Linked DNA regions of Homo sapiens: region 2 is linked to region 1. Evidence: promoter capture Hi-C in human tissues and cell types (Jung and others, 2019). All regions are on one chromosome and are shown on one strand. The core of a region is centred on a gene start or on the middle of the fragment in contact, and the rest is flanking DNA. Distances in the headings are between cores, read along the strand shown. Region 1 holds the start of SEMA4G (semaphorin 4G). Region 2 overlaps SEC31B (SEC31 homolog B, COPII component).

What was found. The method cuts DNA at HindIII sites, captures the fragments that hold promoters and counts their contacts. A contact is called where the count stands out against the background at its distance.
Region 2: a contact is called between a fragment that was not itself captured here and the fragment with the promoter of SEMA4G in region 1, in 1 of the 25 tissues and cell types used here (lymphoblastoid cells).

What each region holds. Positions count from the first base shown.
Region 1 is chr10:100,967,035-100,971,425 of GRCh38, forward strand. SEMA4G (semaphorin 4G) reads left to right here and starts at 2,470. Exons shown (of 15, transcript NM_017893.4): 1 at 2,470-2,557. RefSeq lists a silencer at 2,427-2,486. The HindIII fragment of the contact is 9,481 bases long and covers 633-4,391 here.
Region 2 is chr10:100,500,246-100,504,636 of GRCh38, forward strand. It overlaps SEC31B (SEC31 homolog B, COPII component), which reads right to left. Exons shown (of 26, transcript NM_015490.4): 11 at 2,009-2,239. Among named protein-coding and RNA genes, the nearest start is that of SEC31B, 17 kb to the right of the region's middle. The HindIII fragment of the contact is 5,735 bases long and covers 1-4,391 here.

The DNA.
Region 1 (4,391 bases), core at 1,220-3,719:
AGTGACCTTATGGATGAGTGACAGCCTGTTCAAAGAATGACCTGCCTGTGTCCCAGGATGCAGATTTATGGCTGGGTTAGGGTTAATTTCTTTAGTTGATTTCCAGTTTTCTTTTCCACTGTCTGTCAGTATTCCCCCGTTCTTATTTTACCAGCTGGATTTGCAGAGAGACATACTGTCAATCAAAAGGGCTTCCTATGGGCAGCTCCATTAATTGCTTTTACATCTGATACTCTCATTAGGTTTAGAGATTTTACTGGGAGGCTAGCAGAAGGAAATGGATTGTGGTCTGCTATCAAAAGTACTGAAGTAACTGCCCAGTGATCATTGAAATCACACATTTTGCTCATTTAACAATGTCTGAGTTTGCCATCAGCACCTCAGAGGAGCAAAGCTTGGTTCATAAAGTGAAGTTGAGTGATACTGAGCCTACCACACTGGCCTACTCGCCACCTCCAGAGCTATCTGAAGTCAGCACTGCAGGTTCTGTGAACATTTGGGAAGCTGTGCCTCTTAGCCCCCTGGGCCCCTACAGTTTAATTGCTCTCCTATCTGCTACTGAAGGACCAGCAGTCTTCCTACCCTGCCTCCACTGTTACCACCAACCCACTTTTTGATAAGGACTGCAGATTTATCTTTCTTAGCCCTGCCTTGACTGGTCTTCCCACCTCAGACGTCCTTACTCAGTCCATCATCTCTTTCAGGATTTTCTTCTGTGGTCTTTTTCAAACTACTAGCTGACTTTTCCCTTTTATTTCCCACTAGGAACCCCTCCCCGCCCCCCCCCCCCCCCCAGCCATTTCATCAAATCAAACTCACTGCCCTCTTTCATGCCCCTTCCTTAGTTCCCCAACACAAGCCTGTGCATAAGCTTGAACATTTCTACCTTTGCCAATGGTATTTCCCCTTCTGGCTTACCCTGCTTCCTCCTTCTCAGACTTTTCCAGTCTTGATTGTCCTCTCCATAAACACAAGAATGAACTTCAAGGCAAGTTACTTAATGTCTTAGAGCCTGTTTCCCCATCCATAAAATGGGGCTATAAATTCCTCAGGATGGGATGAGGGTACAAATAAAAAATGAAGCAGGATATTCTTTGTAAAAGTGTGTGTACATTTTTTATTGTGTTTCTCCCCAGCTACCTTCCCTCTCCCCGCCACACACATCCTATTTGCAGAGTGTTGGGGGAGGTGGAACTGTGATGTGGGCCCTGCTGTCTAGCAGTCTGCAGTCACACACAGCCATCCAAACTACGAGATTGTATATGATTCAGTGCCAAACTGTGAGCTTTGGGGAATCCAGAAAGAAGGATGAAGCCTTTCCCAAGTTTCCTTTAGTTAAATGTGCCACTTGAATCCTGTTCTGACTCCTAGGCACATGCAAGAGTCAATCACATATGTTCCTGTGGCCTTTATCATTTTGGTCCATCTCTTGAGCCCACATGAATACTGTCATGGATGGAGGAGGAAGGACCAGGCTGGGTCAGGGCCTGAATGCAGGTTTTGTTTGGACTATAGGGGCTAAGTTCACTTTAATAGGCTGTGACCTATTAAAGGAGGCAGGAACCAAGTTTGCACAGAAGGACCATCCTAGTTGAGTTAAAGGAGTTGGGGAGTTGATTGTGAGGGGTTTCCTAGATTGCTGCTGGGTAAGGTGATTGAATCTGGGAAGGATAGGGTACTTGATTGCCTAGAAGGGTGCACTCTAAGTTCTGGATAAGAATGGTGCCCAAGATGAGCTGGAGGGGAAGGCAAGTGTTTGAATGACCCAGTCCCTGAGGTGAGCCTAGGTTAGGGTTAAGATTTGGTGAGTGAACAGGTGCAAACGCTTGTGGCTTATTTATCCAGAAAAAGCATTTTCTGTGTGCCTTTCAGGTCAGGCTGTTACTTTATCCCCTTCAGGCCTGACCCCATCTCCCCCACGCATAGCTCAAGCTGAACAGCCCCTGAAGCTGGGAATCAAGCCCCTACCTTGTGTTCAGAGCTTCCCTAACGTCCAGTCGCCACCTAGGGTAGCCTTCCCTCCACACCCTAGGCCGAGAGCAGAAGCGGGTGGCAGGAGCACAGGGAGTGAGGTCCAGGTTAGAGGACAGGCCAGAAGGCCCTCCGAGAGGGTCCCCCAACCCCGCAACGCCAGGACAGGTTTGCACGTCCCCAGCAGTAGGCAAGTCAGGGGGGTCCTAGGGTTACAGCGGAGGAGAGGACGGGCTATAAGCATGTGGAGGGTGCACGGGGTGGCGAGGCCACCACCAGGGGGCGATTTCAGGGCCGCAGCGCCTAGAGGTGGGGGGTCGCCCGATGGCCGAAGGCTGTGTGTGAGCCTCGCCCTCAAACCGCCTCTATTGTGCTAGAGTAGGGGGCGCAAAGAAGAGAGTGGCGACCTTCCCCTCACCCCACCCAGTCGGCCCCGCCTTTCAGGACCCCGCCCCACCCCCGGCTCCGCCTCCACCACCCCCCCCCCGCCCCGCCTCCAGCCGCGGCCCCTTCCTCTCGCAGCTGGTGCTGTGGGGCCGCGGAGCCGCGCGTCGCTGTCTCTATGGCCCCGGATCCGAGCGCAAAGGTGAGCAAGGCGAGGAGTGCGGGCGGCGCCCTGGCGTGAGCCTGGGGCTGCGGGCCGGGGGTCGGGCAAGGCCTCCCCCACGTCCATTCTACCCTCCAAGCTGGGCCAGGCCTTTCTCACCACCAAGTCCCCCGGTCCTGCATGACGGCTCTAGAGGGGCGCGGGCCAGGCCTCGGGCTGCGCGGGGTGCAAACCGGCCACCACGGAGTCGGGGACCAGCGCGGGGAGGGGGCCGCGTGGCGAACAGTGTTCCCCAGGATCTGGGTCACGTCTCCCGGCGTCCGGCGGGATCGAAGGAGAGCTTGTCCTCGAGCTGCAGCAGTAGAGACTGAGGTTAGACCTGACGAAGGGAGAGGACCGCGGACTGTCCAGGATGTTGGAGGGAGGGGGTCCCGGGGGAGGGGCTCTCTCAAGCCAGGAGAGACCGCCATCCTACTAGGCAGAGGGAAATACCGCCTACACTAGGCAGGTGGACATCTGGGATGAAGGTCGAGAGCCTGCTGATCCTCCATTGATCCTGTTTGAAGGGTCTCTCCTCCCCAGTTCCCTCCACCCCAAGATCTAATAGAGGAAAGGTGATCAGAGTTCAGGGGGCTGGCCCTGGGGAAGAACCCGAACTGTGGAACTTGGGGTGGAGTGTGGGGCGTGGACTGGAGACCTTAAACCCGTACTTCGCCACTGAAGGGAGGGGTGATATGCTCCGCCCCGCCCACTTAGCCCCGCCCCCTCCCACAGGTTAAGTGGGGGCTGAGAGCTCCAGCCCGTCTCCCACCTTTAGAACCGCAATATACATAGGGGTGGAGGAGTACTAAATTATGCGTTCCATTCCATCTTTGCTGAAGCTAGGGGCCTCCTCCTGCCTGAGTTACTTTCCCATTCCCTCCCTTGTAGAGCGGCCTTGACTCATGCACCCATCCCATCTGCCCATCCAAGGTCAGAAGCCTCCCCCATCACCACACACACACACACACACAACCCCCTCACCACCCCCACACACAAACACACACTTGAAATTGGGCCTTAGAATTGGGACTTTCAGGAACAGAGGCAGGGTTCTGCTCTGCATCTCACCCCAGTGGACACTGGCAGCCTCCAAGCCTATGGCAAAAACTGGACCCCTGTATGCATGTGTGCTTGTCTCTGCATGGATGTAGTTGTGTGTTCAAGAACTGCGTGTGAGCACACATGTACTTGACCCTTCTGTGAACATGATTGCCTGGCCCACTATATCAATGGGTTTGTGTGCATGTCCCTACACATACATGTGTATGTATAGGACCCTCCTGTTGAATAGGTGCACAGTCCTTGACACAAACCCACATGTGTGGGTTTATCTCTCCTCAATGTCTGAGGCTGTGTGACCTGCTGAATGGATGGGCATGTAAATTCAACGTCACATGTGAATATGTATGATTACCTGTGGCTGTGGCCCTCTGTATGAGCATATGTGTGCACAAAACTCCCTGTGAGTATATGTGTGAATGACCCCTGTGAATCCACGTGTTCACAGTCCTCCTTGTGAACATGTGTGTGTGTGTGTGTGTGCACCCATGTGCATGTATATCACCTTCCTAATAGTCACCCATGTGACTCTTAAACTATAAGTGTGACATGCACCACACTGAGTGGCTCCTCTAACCTGGGGCATGTTCCTCCTAGCCATAGTGCTCCCCACACACATGCCTTTTGCACTGAGCAAATAGGAGGTCCCAAAGGTAAACAGGTGTGCCTCCACAGGGAGGGGTGGGGCATGGCCGGCTTGCCTGAAGCTTCCTGCTGTCCCAGATCCCAAACAGGGAGCCTATGCCCTTTCAGGGTCAGGGAATCCTCTTCT
Region 2 (4,391 bases), core at 647-3,146, 470 kb before region 1:
CTATCCCATATCCTTCCGAGGAGACTGCTGCCAAGTGTAGCCTACAGTAGTCTTGTGAGTCTAAATGTTTCTTTTCTTTTTTTTTTTTAGACAGACTCTTGCTGTCTCAACCAGGCTGGAGTACAGTGGCGCCATGTCGGCTCACTGCAACCTCCACCCTCAGGGTTCAAGTGATTCTCCTGTCTCAGCCTCCTAAGTAGCTGGAATTACAGGCGCCCTCAACCACGCCCGGCTAATTTTTTGTATTTTTAGTAGAGACAGGGTTTCACCATGTTGGCCAGGCTGGTCTCGAACTCCTGACCCCAGGTGATCCACCCACCTCAGCCTCCCAAATTGCTGGGATTACAGGCGTGAGCCACCGCACCCAGCCTTGTGAGTCTAAATGTTTCTTTGAGAAGACCTCTGGTAGAAGTTGCACAGGTACAGTAAACAAAGTCAGCTTCCCACTCAATGTCCCAAATACCAAGGAGCAAACCTTTCTGAAGCCCCCGTAATCTTGGTTAGCTGTCCCAGGCCCTTAATTTATTCCACACTGAAACATGATTTCTAACCATACCTTTCTCATAGTCTCTCTGGGCACCCTTCTCCTTCCATGCCCTTCCCTTGGAAATGTTCACCACACCCAACCAGGAACCATCATGATGGACAGCTCTTGGGTAGCTTTTAAACCAGAATGCCTGGCCAGGCGCGGTGGCTCACGCCTATAATGCCAGCACTTTGGGAGGCTGAGGTGGGTGGATCACCTGAGTTCAGGAGTTCGAGACTAGCCTGGCCAACATGGTGAAACCCTGTCTCTACTACAAAAAAAATACAAAAAATACAAAAAAAAAAAAACCCTGTCTCTAAAAAAAAATACAGGCGTGGTGGCAGGTGCCTGTAATCCCAGCTATTTAGGAGGCTGAGGCAGGAGAATTGCTTGAACCCGGGAGGCAGAAGTTGCAGTAAGCCAAGATCATGCCATTGTACTCCAGCCTGAGCGACAAGAGTGAAACTCTGTCTCAAAAAAACAAAAACAAAAAAACCCAGAATGCCCTGTCCTATAGGTCCCTCTGTCCTATAGGTACCACTGTCTCCTTTGTTTAGCGGAGTAAAGGCTGAACTCCTGACCACTCCCTCTCTTTACCATCTCACCATTCCTGGAACTTGTATCCTGCTTATGACAAAAGCATCATTTCTTATTCTTTTCTTCCCACATCATTCTCTGGCTTCACTGTATAGTCAAGATCTTTCTCAAATCCTCTTTCTCTAACTTCCTGATGTCCACCTTCATAAAGCTCTACTATGCCTAAAGCTCAAATTTCAAGTCCCTCTCAGATGCCCTGGTACAGGCCCAATCCTTTTTGCTTTCTTCTAAACAATTCCAAAAACTTGCACAATCATCCCACTGACTGACCAGTCAGCTACTTGCCTTTCTTCCTTCAGATCTCTCACTTGCTCATTTCCTTTGATAGGTATAGTACTCCTCCTGGTGTCACAGGAAACTTGAAATTAAATGAGAACTGGAACTGAACCCATGCCTCCAGTGTACAGTGGCACCTGAACCCTAGGACCCACTCCAAGGACTTGCCTTGGGTTACTTGAAACCAACTCAAAGCCTTCTTATGACAATATGTCCTTCTAACTAATGTTTTTCCTTTCTCCTCTTTTTCTCTTTCCTCCCTTTTTTCTTCCTTCCCATTACCTTATCTGCCCTTTGGCATGATACCGTGAAGGTCTTTGCCTTGGCCCTGGTAAAATACCTAGGACATCAACCATAGTAGCAACAAAAGAAAACATCTCGTGTATTCCCCATCTTTCCTAGCCTCTTCCCAAATGGCCTTTGAGCCTCTGGTAAAGGGTGAACGTTTTGTGTCTAGATGGTGGGTATAGTGTGGGGGAAAAACTAATGGGAGTTAAGGCCTCTGTGATCTGGGTCCCAGTGTGCTTGTGCTTCTCCTGCAGTTGACAGAGGTTGGAGTTCCAGGCTTTGGGGAGACACTTCTGAGCAGCTAGCCTTCAGGCTTCCCACCTTCAGGAACTGCCACAGCATCTTTTCACTTTGCAGTAAAGCTTGCTGGCTCTTGTTCTGACAGTAATTCAGTAGATTTCCTGATCCCAAGGCCTCCTGCAGCTCAGCTGATCGCATCAGGAATTCAGATTCTGTGGTGACTTGACTGATGAAGACTAGGCGGGGGCAAGGCTGTGGCACCAGATGGGCAGGGGTGCTGGGGAGGCCAAAAGTAACCAGCTTCCCTCCAAACTGGTGAGGAAAAGCAAGAAGGGTAAAGGTTATACCTTCAAGTCAAAAAGTAACACTAAGTCAGATTCACAGAGAAGGCTATCTAATGGCTGACCCTAGGCTAGGAAATAAATAAAATAAGAGAGTTCCTGGGGGGTGGAATAGGATCAGGAATTTAGTATTGAATTCGTCTCCCTACCAAAACCACTTCTGCACTCTTAGGACCACCCACTTCAAACTTCACCACACAAGACTCACCTTCTGCTAACCTGTCCTGGTACCACCATTCTCCCAGTCACCTGGGCTAAATACCTCAGCATTAGCAAAGTCTTCATACCCCCTATAGCCAAGCAACGACAAAGTCCTACCTATTCTTGTTCACTGTCTTTCATGCAGGTCCCCTCCATCCCATTCCCAGTGCCAGTACCCCCAGATTACTAAAATAGTTTGCTAGCCTTCTGTTCTTTTCCCTCCTCTAATTAAGCCTTAGACTATCCCTCTATTGCTTGTACCAACCTGCTGCTATTCAGGAGCCTGTGTGGTTTCACAAGGCCACAGGAAAGAGCTTAAGCTCCCCTTCCTGCAGTGCACAAACCTCTGCAAAATCAGGGCCAAACCTATCTTTCCCAGCATCTCTCTCCCTGCTTGTTTATTATAATTGCTCCACATCCCTAAAATGCCTGGTGTGTTCCTGCTTCTGTGCCTTTACCCACAACACCCCCACCTGGAGTATCCGTCTCACCAAATTAGATGCCTTATATAAAGCATCTGGCACAAAACAGGACCTTAGAAAAACCCTTTTTACTCCAGCAGTTCTCAACATTGGCTGCATATTAAAACCACATGGAGAACAATCCAGACTTGCCAGGCCACACCCCAGACAATACAATCAGAAACTCTGGGGATGGGACTAGGCATCAGTATTTTTTGAATTATTCAGGTTATTCCAATGTGTATCCAAGGCTGACAACTTTTTTTTTTTTTTTTGAGATGGAGTTTTGTTCTTGTTGCCCAGGCTGGAGTATAATGGCGCAATCTCGGCTCACCGTAACCTCCGCCTCCCAGGTTCACTCGATTCTCCTGCCTCAGCCTCCCAAGTAGCTGGGATTACAGGTATGCACCACCACGCCCGGCTAATTTTGTATTTTTAGTAGAGACAGGGGTTTCTCCATGTTGGTCAGGCTGGTCTCGAACTCCCCGACCTCAGGTGATCCACCTGCCTCGGCCTCCCAAAGTGCTGGGATTACAGGAGTAAGCCACCAGCGCCTGGCCGACAACTTTTTTTTTTTTTTAATTTTTACTTTAGGTTAAAAAAATTCAATCCAATGCAGTAAATGTCCATGTTTGTTATATGGTAAACTTGTGTCATGGGGGTTTGTTGTACAGATTATTTGGCGTTGATAACTATTGCTTTACTCCCTAACTATTCACCATTTCTTTTCCCAATATCCACCTCCTAATGAACTCTCCCAGTCAGAATTCTTATTTACCGTGACTTCTGCAGCACAAAATCTACACCACAGATTAGTGCTAAACAAAACCATTTTAACTTTTGATTTATATAGTACTTGATAGTTTTACAAAGTGTGTACATATATTCTTATTTGTGGTTCATGTTAATTTTCTGGGCAGGCATCACTATCCCTGTTTTACCGATAAGAACGGTTAAGTCCTGAGAGGTTAAATGAATTGTTCAAGGTTACCCAGCTAATAAATGACAGAGCTATGATAAGAATTCAGGCCTCTTGACCTCAGAATTCTTTACCTCCCTACTTCTTTTTCTTTTTAAGCTCACAGCCTATTGAATGTGTTAGTCTTGCCTCCCCAGTAAAACCGTTGGCTTTGAAAACAAGAACTTCCGCTTTTATACATCTGTTTTCAATTCAAACCTAATATTTAAAGCATTGTACCAAGTGCTTCAGGGCCTTGTCATTCAAAGTGCTAGTCCTCCGACCAGCTGCAAGGACATCAACTGGGAGCCTGCTGAAAAATCAGAATCTTGGGCCTTACTTCCAACTCAATGAACCAGTTTCTGAATTTTAATAAGATCCCCAAGTGATGTGGATGCACATTAATAGTTTGTGAAGCACCGCTTTGGGGATATAAAAATCAGCAAGACATAGTCCCTATCCTTAAGGAGTCTATTACTTAGTAGGGTAATATGCATATATGT